3 separate regions of the Homo sapiens genome follow, and all the other regions are linked to region 3. Evidence: promoter capture Hi-C in 16 types of primary human blood cells and fetal thymus (Javierre and others, 2016). All regions are on one chromosome and are shown on one strand. Each heading gives the region's core, a stretch centred on a gene start or on the middle of the fragment in contact. The rest is flanking DNA. Distances are from core to core; before and after follow the strand shown. Region 1 holds the start of RNF113B (ring finger protein 113B). Region 2 holds the start of SLC15A1 (solute carrier family 15 member 1). Region 3 holds the start of FARP1-AS1 (FARP1 antisense RNA 1).

What was found. The method cuts DNA at HindIII sites, captures the fragments that hold promoters and counts their contacts. A CHiCAGO score of 5 or more calls a contact.
Region 1: the fragment with the promoter of RNF113B here is called in contact with the fragment with the promoter of FARP1-AS1 in region 3 in 2 of 17 cell types (erythroblasts and endothelial precursors); the score reaches 6.6 in erythroblasts.
Region 2: a contact is called between the fragment with the promoter of SLC15A1 here and the fragment with the promoter of FARP1-AS1 in region 3, in 9 of 17 cell types (activated CD4 T cells, M0 macrophages, erythroblasts and 6 more). The highest score is 10.8, in activated CD4 T cells.

Annotation. Positions count from the first base shown.
Region 1 is chr13:98,175,748-98,178,624 of GRCh38, forward strand. RNF113B (ring finger protein 113B) reads right to left here and starts at 1,522. Exons shown (of 2, transcript NM_178861.5): 1 at 535-1,522; 2 at 38-429. The coding sequence starts at 1,489. The coding sequence ends at 416. All of the region lies in intron 1 of FARP1 (FERM, ARH/RhoGEF and pleckstrin domain protein 1), which reads left to right. The HindIII fragment of the contact is 1,058 bases long and covers 549-1,606 here.
Region 2 is chr13:98,751,359-98,754,178 of GRCh38, forward strand. SLC15A1 (solute carrier family 15 member 1) reads right to left here and starts at 1,314. Exons shown (of 23, transcript NM_005073.4): 1 at 1,237-1,314. The coding sequence starts at 1,240. The HindIII fragment of the contact is 4,199 bases long and covers 1-2,633 here.
Region 3 is chr13:98,434,411-98,437,119 of GRCh38, forward strand. FARP1-AS1 (FARP1 antisense RNA 1) reads right to left here and starts at 1,430. Exons shown (of 2, transcript NR_046595.1): 1 at 1,362-1,430; 2 at 995-1,248. It overlaps FARP1 (FERM, ARH/RhoGEF and pleckstrin domain protein 1), which reads left to right. Exons shown (of 27, transcript NM_005766.4): 19 at 1,166-1,296. The HindIII fragment of the contact is 3,650 bases long and covers 219-2,709 here.

The DNA.
Region 1 (2,877 bases), core at 272-2,771, 260 kb before region 3:
ATACCTTATATTAGTGAAAAATCATACAGCGTATTGGTCATTTTGTGACTAGTTTATTTCACTTAGCAGTGTCGTCTTCAAGGTTCATTCTAGTTGTAGCATGTGATCCTTAAAAGGATCAGTTTAAATCTTTAAAAGGATTTCCTTCCCGTTAAGGCTTAATAGCATTCCATTGTGTGTGTGTATCGCATTTTGTTTGTCCATTCATCCATCCATGGACACTTGGGTTGTTTACACCTCTTGGCTTTTGCAAATAATTCTGCAGTGAACATGGGAGTGCACATACCTCTTTGAGATCCGGATTTCAATTCTTTTGGTTACATACTCAGGCATGGGATTGCAGGAAGACTGTCATCTCTCTCATCTTACTCAACAGGCTGCTTCTCCCCAGTGTACATACAGACTTGAGTCTTTCTTATCTCTTTTTTCCTAAAAGAACAAAAAAATTTATTTAAATGTGAGAATTATGGGAAACCTAAGCCATGGGAATTGGACACTCATGGGGGTCTTCTGTGAAATGGGACTTGCCCCCACCTTCTGCAGCCTGAAGCTTTTGCAGTTTCGCCATCAGTTCTTTGGCGGGGTTAAAGATGCCGCCGGTTGGCTGGTCACAGATGTAGCAGCGCGGGGTGGCCCGGAAGTGCTCCAGCGCGCAGCTCTCGCAGAAATAATGCCTGCACTTGGTGACGACTGGGTTTTGGAAGGCCTGGCGACATATGAAACACCTGAATGGTATTTCCTCTTCCTCGCTTCCCACTTCATGGTTTTCGTCCTCGCAGATACAGTAGCGACCCTCTTCAAGCTCCCGTTCAATCTCCCACCCGAGCTTGTAATCGGAACGGTCGTGGAGGAATTTGCAGCTGTCCCCGAAGCCACAGAAGCCAGTCTCCTTGTAGTCCTTGCAGATGTCAGGCTGGTAATCCCAGCGCACAGTGGCGCGCAGATGCCCTGGCGCACGTATGGGGCCCTTCCTCGCCATCCCCGAGGAGGAGTTGCCCATGGACGTGTCCTTGGGCTTCAGGTACCTCAGGTAGCTGTGGATTCCCCGGTAGATGTGGTCGTGCTCCCGACCCCGCAGTGCCTCCTGGACCCGCTGGCTGCACTTGAGGATGGTCGGCGTATGGTGCTCCTTCTCGGTGTCCTGCTCGAAGTCAGCGGTGGCCCCCATGTCCTCTGGCCCCACAGGCTTCGCCGAGCGGGTGGACCTGTACACCACGTCGAGGCTCTCAGGCGCCGCCTCCTCGCCCCTCCTGTCGCCGTGAGCCGCCTTCTGCCAGCTGTGGAGGCCCCGGGGCCTCGGTGCCACCCGCGGGGGCTGAGCCACTGTGTCGCCCTCGTCCCCGCTGCTGCTGCTCTCTCCGTGCTCGGGGTCGCAGGCCGGGCGCTTTCTGAGGCCTGCAGCCCCTTTCCGTCCAGGCTTTTTGAAGAGGAAGGTGCATACCTGGTCTGCTTGGTCGGCCGTCCTTCCTGGAGAAGGTGGCGCTGCCATGTTTGAGTCTCAGGCTCCCAACGGCCGTGGCGTGCGTCACCCTTGCGTCGCCCTTGCGTCGCTGCACGTGGGGCGTGGGCCCTCCCAGTTCTAAAAAGCAAAAGCAAGTGAAAGAAAAGCTTCTGCTAGGCCAGGCGCGGTGACTCACTCTTGTAATCCCGGGACACTGGGAGGCCGAGGTGGGAGAATCACCCGAGGTCAGCAGTTTAAGACCAGCCTGGCCAACATAGCGAAACTCCATCCTTACTAAAAATACAAAAATTACCTGGGTGTGGTGGCGTGCGCCTGAAGTCCCAGCTACTAGGGAGGCTGAGGCAGAAGAATCGCTTGAACCCAGGAGGCAGAGGTTGTAGTGAGCCGAGATCACGCCACTGTACTCTAGCCTGGGTGACAGAGCGAGACCCTGTCTCAAATTAAAAAAAAAAAAACCAAAAAAAAAGGCTTCTCCCGCCCTTCCCTCCCTTGACCTGCCTCCTGGCCCTCAGATGGATTCCTTGAGAGAGTCATCTTCACTTGCTCCTCAGCTCCCTCAGTGCACACTCATTTTTCAACAGATTCCTAAAAGGCCACGGGTGGAATCATTCCAGGCCATAGCGAACCGGTGGTGCTCATCCTAAAACACAGGCGCTTGAAATGCGTATTTAAAAGCAACACACGCGCAGTGCAGAAAACAAAAACAGATACAAGCAAAAAGTAAGACGCCTATAATCCCTCCCCTCAAAGATAACCACTGTCAACACTTTTGTGTCTATTCTTTTAATATAGCCTTTATTAAAAGACTGTCATATCACACTGCACCTGTGGGTGTGTAGCTGGCTTTCATTTTGAAATAAAAGTAACACATGTAAACATTTAAAAAAATATTATCAAGCACTTATTGTAATGGAAATTGGCTGTCCCCTGCCTGGCCCCTCCACACGCCAATTCCTGGTACCTAAGATAATCATTTTTAATTTTTTTTTTTTTTTTTTTTTTTTGAGAAAGAGTCTCGCTCTGTCGCCCAGGCTGGAGTGCAGTTACATGATCCCGGCTCACTGCAACCTCTGCCTCCCGGGTTCAAGCAATTCTCCTGCCTCAGCCTCCTGAGTAGCTGGGATTACAGGTGTGTGCCACCACACCCAGCTAACTTCTGTGTTTTTAGTAGCGACAGGGTTTCACCATGTTGGCCAGGCTGGTGTGGAACTCCTGACCTCAGGTGATCCACCCACCTTGGCCTCCTAAAATGTTGGTATTACAGGCGTGAGCCACTGCACCCCGCCTTCAAATATTTTTAACCCTTTTTTTTCTTGAGTTTATCTTCAAGTTGTGAAATAATTCATTTATATAATGTAAATGGATTCTAGTTCTTATTTAGCCAGTGCATGTCATAAAGTGTTACATGCAATTTC
Region 2 (2,820 bases), core at 64-2,563, 320 kb after region 3:
ATCTGCTGGAAATGCTAAACACGGGTCATAAATTCCAACTCAACAAGGATGCTGCTCAGGTATTTGGTATTTGATGATCAACAGAAATAGTTCAGAGCACCTCCCAGCAAAGTTGCATAGAGTGACAGGTGGGACTTGTTTGAGGGCGGGACCCAGAACTGCAGCCCAGGAATCTGCCTGCAGAGCTGAGCTCGGCCACAGTCTCCGCCAGAGAGGGAAGTTGCAGGTCTTTCTGGAACAGGCACAACTGGCTACAATTAGAAGTCCAAAGTGTGAACCACTCACTGCTTCTCCTTAGGAACCACCACATGCTGTGTCCGGCAGGCATTCTGAGAGCCAGAGGACGGCTGCACCCTGGGGCTGGGCACTGACACACATCACTCCACCAGGACCACTGAGGCAGCCACCGACCGACATTCCTGTCTACAGGCTCAGATCCCCCTCAACAACGTGGCCACATCTTCTGCAAAATGCTGGCCGGGGGCATCCATGGCACAACTTTGGGAAGCTGACTGGGCTTCCTCATCTTTAAGAAAGCAGCGGGCTGGGCTGCTCCCAGCAGCTCTGGCTCTGCTTCCGTTCATTCTCTCTGGGTCTGCCTTAGTTCCAGGGTGATTAATTCGGAAGCGGGGCAGGAGTCAAGTTGCCTCCTAGCTGTTTTGCTGACGCTCCAGCCCCATCAAGAGCCAGCTCCTCACCTTCTGTAAGGCACAGAAGGTGCCTCAAATTAAGCCAGGGGACAGTGCAGAGGGTTAAGAGGGGGCCACAAAGAGAGGCCCCATCTCCTCTTGGGCCAGGGTTCCCTGCGGAACTCCAGGGTCACCTCGCCAGCCAGAGGCAAGACAAGTGCAAAGGCAGCCACAAGGCTTCCGCCAGTTAGACGGTGTTTCTGCCGCCCCTGCCGTCACCCGCTGGGTCCCGTCCCGCTCCAAGCGCACTCCCGGCCCGCAGGGTGGGAATACGAGGATTACAGTGCCCCACGGGCGGGCGGGCCAGGATCGCAACCTCGGCGGAGTCGGCGCCTCTGGGCACCTCTGGCTTCCGCGCCCCGGCCGCACGGTGACCACCCGGGAGGGGATCCCGGGCGCCCCGCAACCTCCCGGCCCCCGTGGGCCTTCGGGTCGCCCCGCTTCCCGCCGCCGCGTACCCTTCGCGCCTCCCGGCCCTCGGTGCCGGCCCCCGCCCCGCGTAGCTCCGAGTCTTTAGCCCGGCCGGCCCCCCACCCGCCGAGCGTACCCATGGCGGCGGCTCCCAGGGCTCCTGCGACCTGCCGGCGGGACGTGCTCCTGGCAGGTGCTACTCCTCCGACCTGACGTCCAGGCCCGGCCCCGTTGCCCCAGGTACAGCCCCAGCTCTGCGAGGCGGGGCCGCCGGCTCCACCCGGGGGGCGGTGCTGCGGGGAGCAGAGGTCCGTGCTCCCGAGCCGTCGCGCGTGGACACCAGCCCCGGCCCAGGTGCGGGTGGGCCCCGACGGGAGCGCGTGGCAGGCCGGGGGAGAGCCAGTCTAAACGCGGATTCCCAGGCCCCACCCCCCGGCCAGCTGACTCAGGAGGTCGGGGCTGGGGCCCCAGAATGTGCATTTCTAAGAAGTCTAAGGGGAGGTTGATGCTGCTGGATCCAGAACGACACTTTGGAAACCACTGTGGGAGGAACGCACGCTTCTGGGTGGGGAGGCAAAACACGGTGGGACAGTGGTCAGCTGTGTGTGTGTGTGTGTGTGTGAGAGAGAATGTGTGTGTGGGTGTGAGTGAGGATTGTGTGTGAGTGTGTGTGTGTGAATGAGGATTGAGTGTGAGCATGTGTGAGAATATGTATATAGTTTGCATGTGAGAATGTATGTGTGATGTGTGTGTGAGAGTGTGTGTGAGAGTGTGTGTGTGGCTTTATTTTGAGATTCAACCTTTGAAAGCATTTCTGGGGGATTCTACATTTCCTTTCTTTAAGAATCATCCTTTCTTTAAGAGGACACAACCAAATGGAAGAATATTCTATGCTCATGGATAGGAGGAATCAATATCGTGAAAATAGTCATACTGCTCAAGGTAATTTATAGATTCAATGCTATGCCCATCAAGCTACCAATGCCTTTCTTCGCAGAATTGGAAAAAACTACTTTAAAGTTCATACGGAACCAAAAAAGAGCCCCCATAGCCAAGACAATCCTAAGCAAAAAGAACAAAGCTGGAGGCATCATGCTACCTGACTTCAAACTATACTACAAGGCTACAGTAAGCAAAACAGCATGGCACTGGTACCAAAACAGATATATAGACCAATGGAACAGAACAGAGGCCTCAGAAATAACACCACACATCTACAACTATCTGATCTTTGACAAACCTGACAAAAACAAGCCATGGGAAATGGATTCCCTATTTAATAAATGGTGCTGGGAAAACTGGCTAGCCATATGTAGAAAGCTGAAACTGAATCCCTTCCTTACACCTTATACAAAAATTAATTCAAGATGGATTAAAGACTTAAATGTAAGACCTAAAATCATAAAAACCCTAGAAGAAAACCTAGGCAATACCATTCAGGACATAGGCATGGGCAAGGACTTCATGTCTAAAACACCAAGAGCAATGGCAACAAAAGCCAAAATAGACAAATGGGACCTAATTAAACTAAAAAGCTTCTGCACAGCAAAAGAAACTACCATCAGAGTGAACAGGCAACCTACAGAATGGGAGAAAATGTTTGCAATCTACCCATCTGACAAAGGACTAATATCTAGAATCTACAAAGAACTTAAACAAATTTACAAGAAAAAAATCAAACAACCCCATCAAAAAGTGGGCAAAGGATATGAACAGACCC
Region 3 (2,709 bases), core at 180-2,679:
TCGCATCCTTGGGGGAAAAAACAAGAAAACTAAATGCTTCCCTTCCAACACTGAAATGCTGGGGGAAAGCAGTGAAAGAGGTATTTAGAGTTCTGAAGACTGAAGTTCAGTCAACAAGTATTTCTTGCTTTTCTTGACCAAACTACCCAAGTGCTCAGCCGCTGGGGACTTGAGTGCCACCCAAACTTGTCAGCCACTGGGGACTTGCGTGCCACCCAAGCTTGTATTAATCAGGCACTAGCTTCTTTTAAATATTGGATGCCCACCAGTATAGGGGAGCCGTGCCTCTATCGAAAAATAAAGGCCTGATGTGGTGGCTCATGCCTGTAATCCCAGCACTTTGGGCGGCCAAGGCGTGTGGATCGCCTGAGGTCAGGAGTTCGAGACCAGCCTAACCAACATGGTGAAACCTTGTCTCTACTGAAAATACAAAATTAGCCGGGCGTGGTGGCACGCACCTGTAATCCCAGCTACTCGGGAGGCTGAGGCAGGACAATCACTTGAACCTGGGGGCAGAGGTTGCAGTGAGCTGAGATTATGCCATTGTACTCCAGCCTGGGCAACAAGAGCAAAACTCTGTCTCAAACAAATAAAAGAAAAGAAAAAATTTGAATTCTACAGCAATTCTTCACAACCATCTTGGTAAACAGTGTAATTTCCACACAAGACAGAACTGGGGTGTGGTGGAATGTTAGTTACCTGGAATATACTGACACTTCACAATATCAATTACACCTCCTCCCAAGGAGGTGCTGACTTTGCTCCAGATTTTTCTATGGCCTCTTTGTGCTCACTGTGCCTTGTTCTTTCCGAGTAACAGGAGGGAAAAGAAAAGTCTCTACCCAGGGACAAAATTCAAGGCAGTCTTCTTCCCCCGTGTCTTTCCCCTCTAAGCCAACAGGTCCGTCTAATTGAAGGACAGCTGTATGCCACGTCACCATGCAGGGGTCACTTAGTTTTAAGATGCTAAAGTGAAGCAAATAAATACAGAAAATACACCATCAATTTTTATTATAGAGAAATAGCACTGTTTTTGCTCAAAAGACACCTTTGAATACTGTGCAGGGACTGGAGTGATTTCCCTGCAGCGTTGAGCTGACAGCTGCTAGGGGAAGACCCCTGCCTGCCTTTCCCGCTGCAGACTGTGTATGTCTTTCCTTCACAGCCGCTTTGGCAGAGATCACGGAGATGGTGGCACAGCTCCACGGTACGATGATCAAGATGGAGAATTTCCAGAAGCTGCACGAACTCAAGAAAGATTTGATTGGCATTGACAATCTTGTGGTTCCGGGAAGGGTAAGCAGCAGTGGCCTCACTATGCACTGCGCGGGGAGCAGAAAGGAGGCATCGGAGGGACTTACATTTGAACCTTTTGAAGAGAGACCCTTGCAAAGCAAAATGTCCTCTTTCCATCCACCTGGGAGACAACTGGAAAAACACAACAGTGTCGTTAGTTCAGAATCATTGTGTTCGGAGGAGATAAAGCAATCCTCTGACCTCATATTCTGCTTTTTCTCCTTACGGGGTGATTCGCTTCTTTACCTTTTCCCCTACCATATCCCACAGAAGATTTGAGATTGCTTATTTTATTTTTTTTAAATGTACATAAATGAAAATGGAAAATTAAAAAAAAAATTAGGTAAATAGTAATAAAGCCAGAAAGGTAGTGCATTAAATTATGCTAGAAATTCCCATGCAGGTATGAAGTGTTTTTTTAAAATTCAATCTTCCATATATAATTTAATTTGAGTTCAAAATTAAAATACCAAATCTTAGCTGGAAAGCAATTCCAGGAGAGATGCAAGTTCACTGACACTGTCGCCTACCCCTCCCCAGCCCCCTGCCTGAGATGCAGGTGATTCCTACTCAACAGGGCTTCCCGCACACACTCCTTCCAGGCCAGTGACAATGTGGAGGACAGGAACAAAGCCTGCCTTCTCCACTTCCCTTCCTAGAAAGCCATCATCACCCAGGAATCAAACGTATCATTCAGTTGCTGCGTCTCATCAAATCTCTCTCTGGGATCTTTACCCTGTGGCGCCCCCATTTCAAATGCTACGTCACCCAGGTCGAGAGACAACTCACTGTAGCTGCTTTGATCTGCTGCTGCAGGATCCAGTATCTCAGGGGCTTTTAGTCTTTTTCCAACAAGCAGCTGCCCTGGAAACTTGACATCTGTAACTCAGGGCAGGGGAAGGAAGCTCTCCTTGTTTTGGAGCATTTCTGTCAGGAAGCCTAATTACAGAACTGACCAGAAGCCACGTTGTGAGAGATTGTCAGAAGAGCCATGCGGTAAGCGCTGGCAGAAATTAGAGCTGGGATGGCCTCAGCTCTGCTGGTGACAAGATCCTGCCAGGCCTCGGCACTTAATGACCTTATTTACCCATCCACACGGAACCCTCAGAAAAGCCCTGTGGAATCGATGTAATTTTCTCTCAGCTTTGAAAGTTATAAAATATTTAGCATCTCATGCTACATGGTGAACAGACCACTGATAAAGAATTCCTTTTTTTGAGGAAATGTTTTCCACTGCAATGGAAAGAACCTTGGATTGGAGGAGGTGGCCCTGGGTTCAAAGTCTCGCTCTACCAGTGCCGGGGTGGCGGGGGACCATGCACATGGAGACCATGGCCTCTCCCTCATAGGTCATTAAGATCAAATGAGATTTGCTCTGTGAAAATGACATAATACATATTAATTATCTTCGTT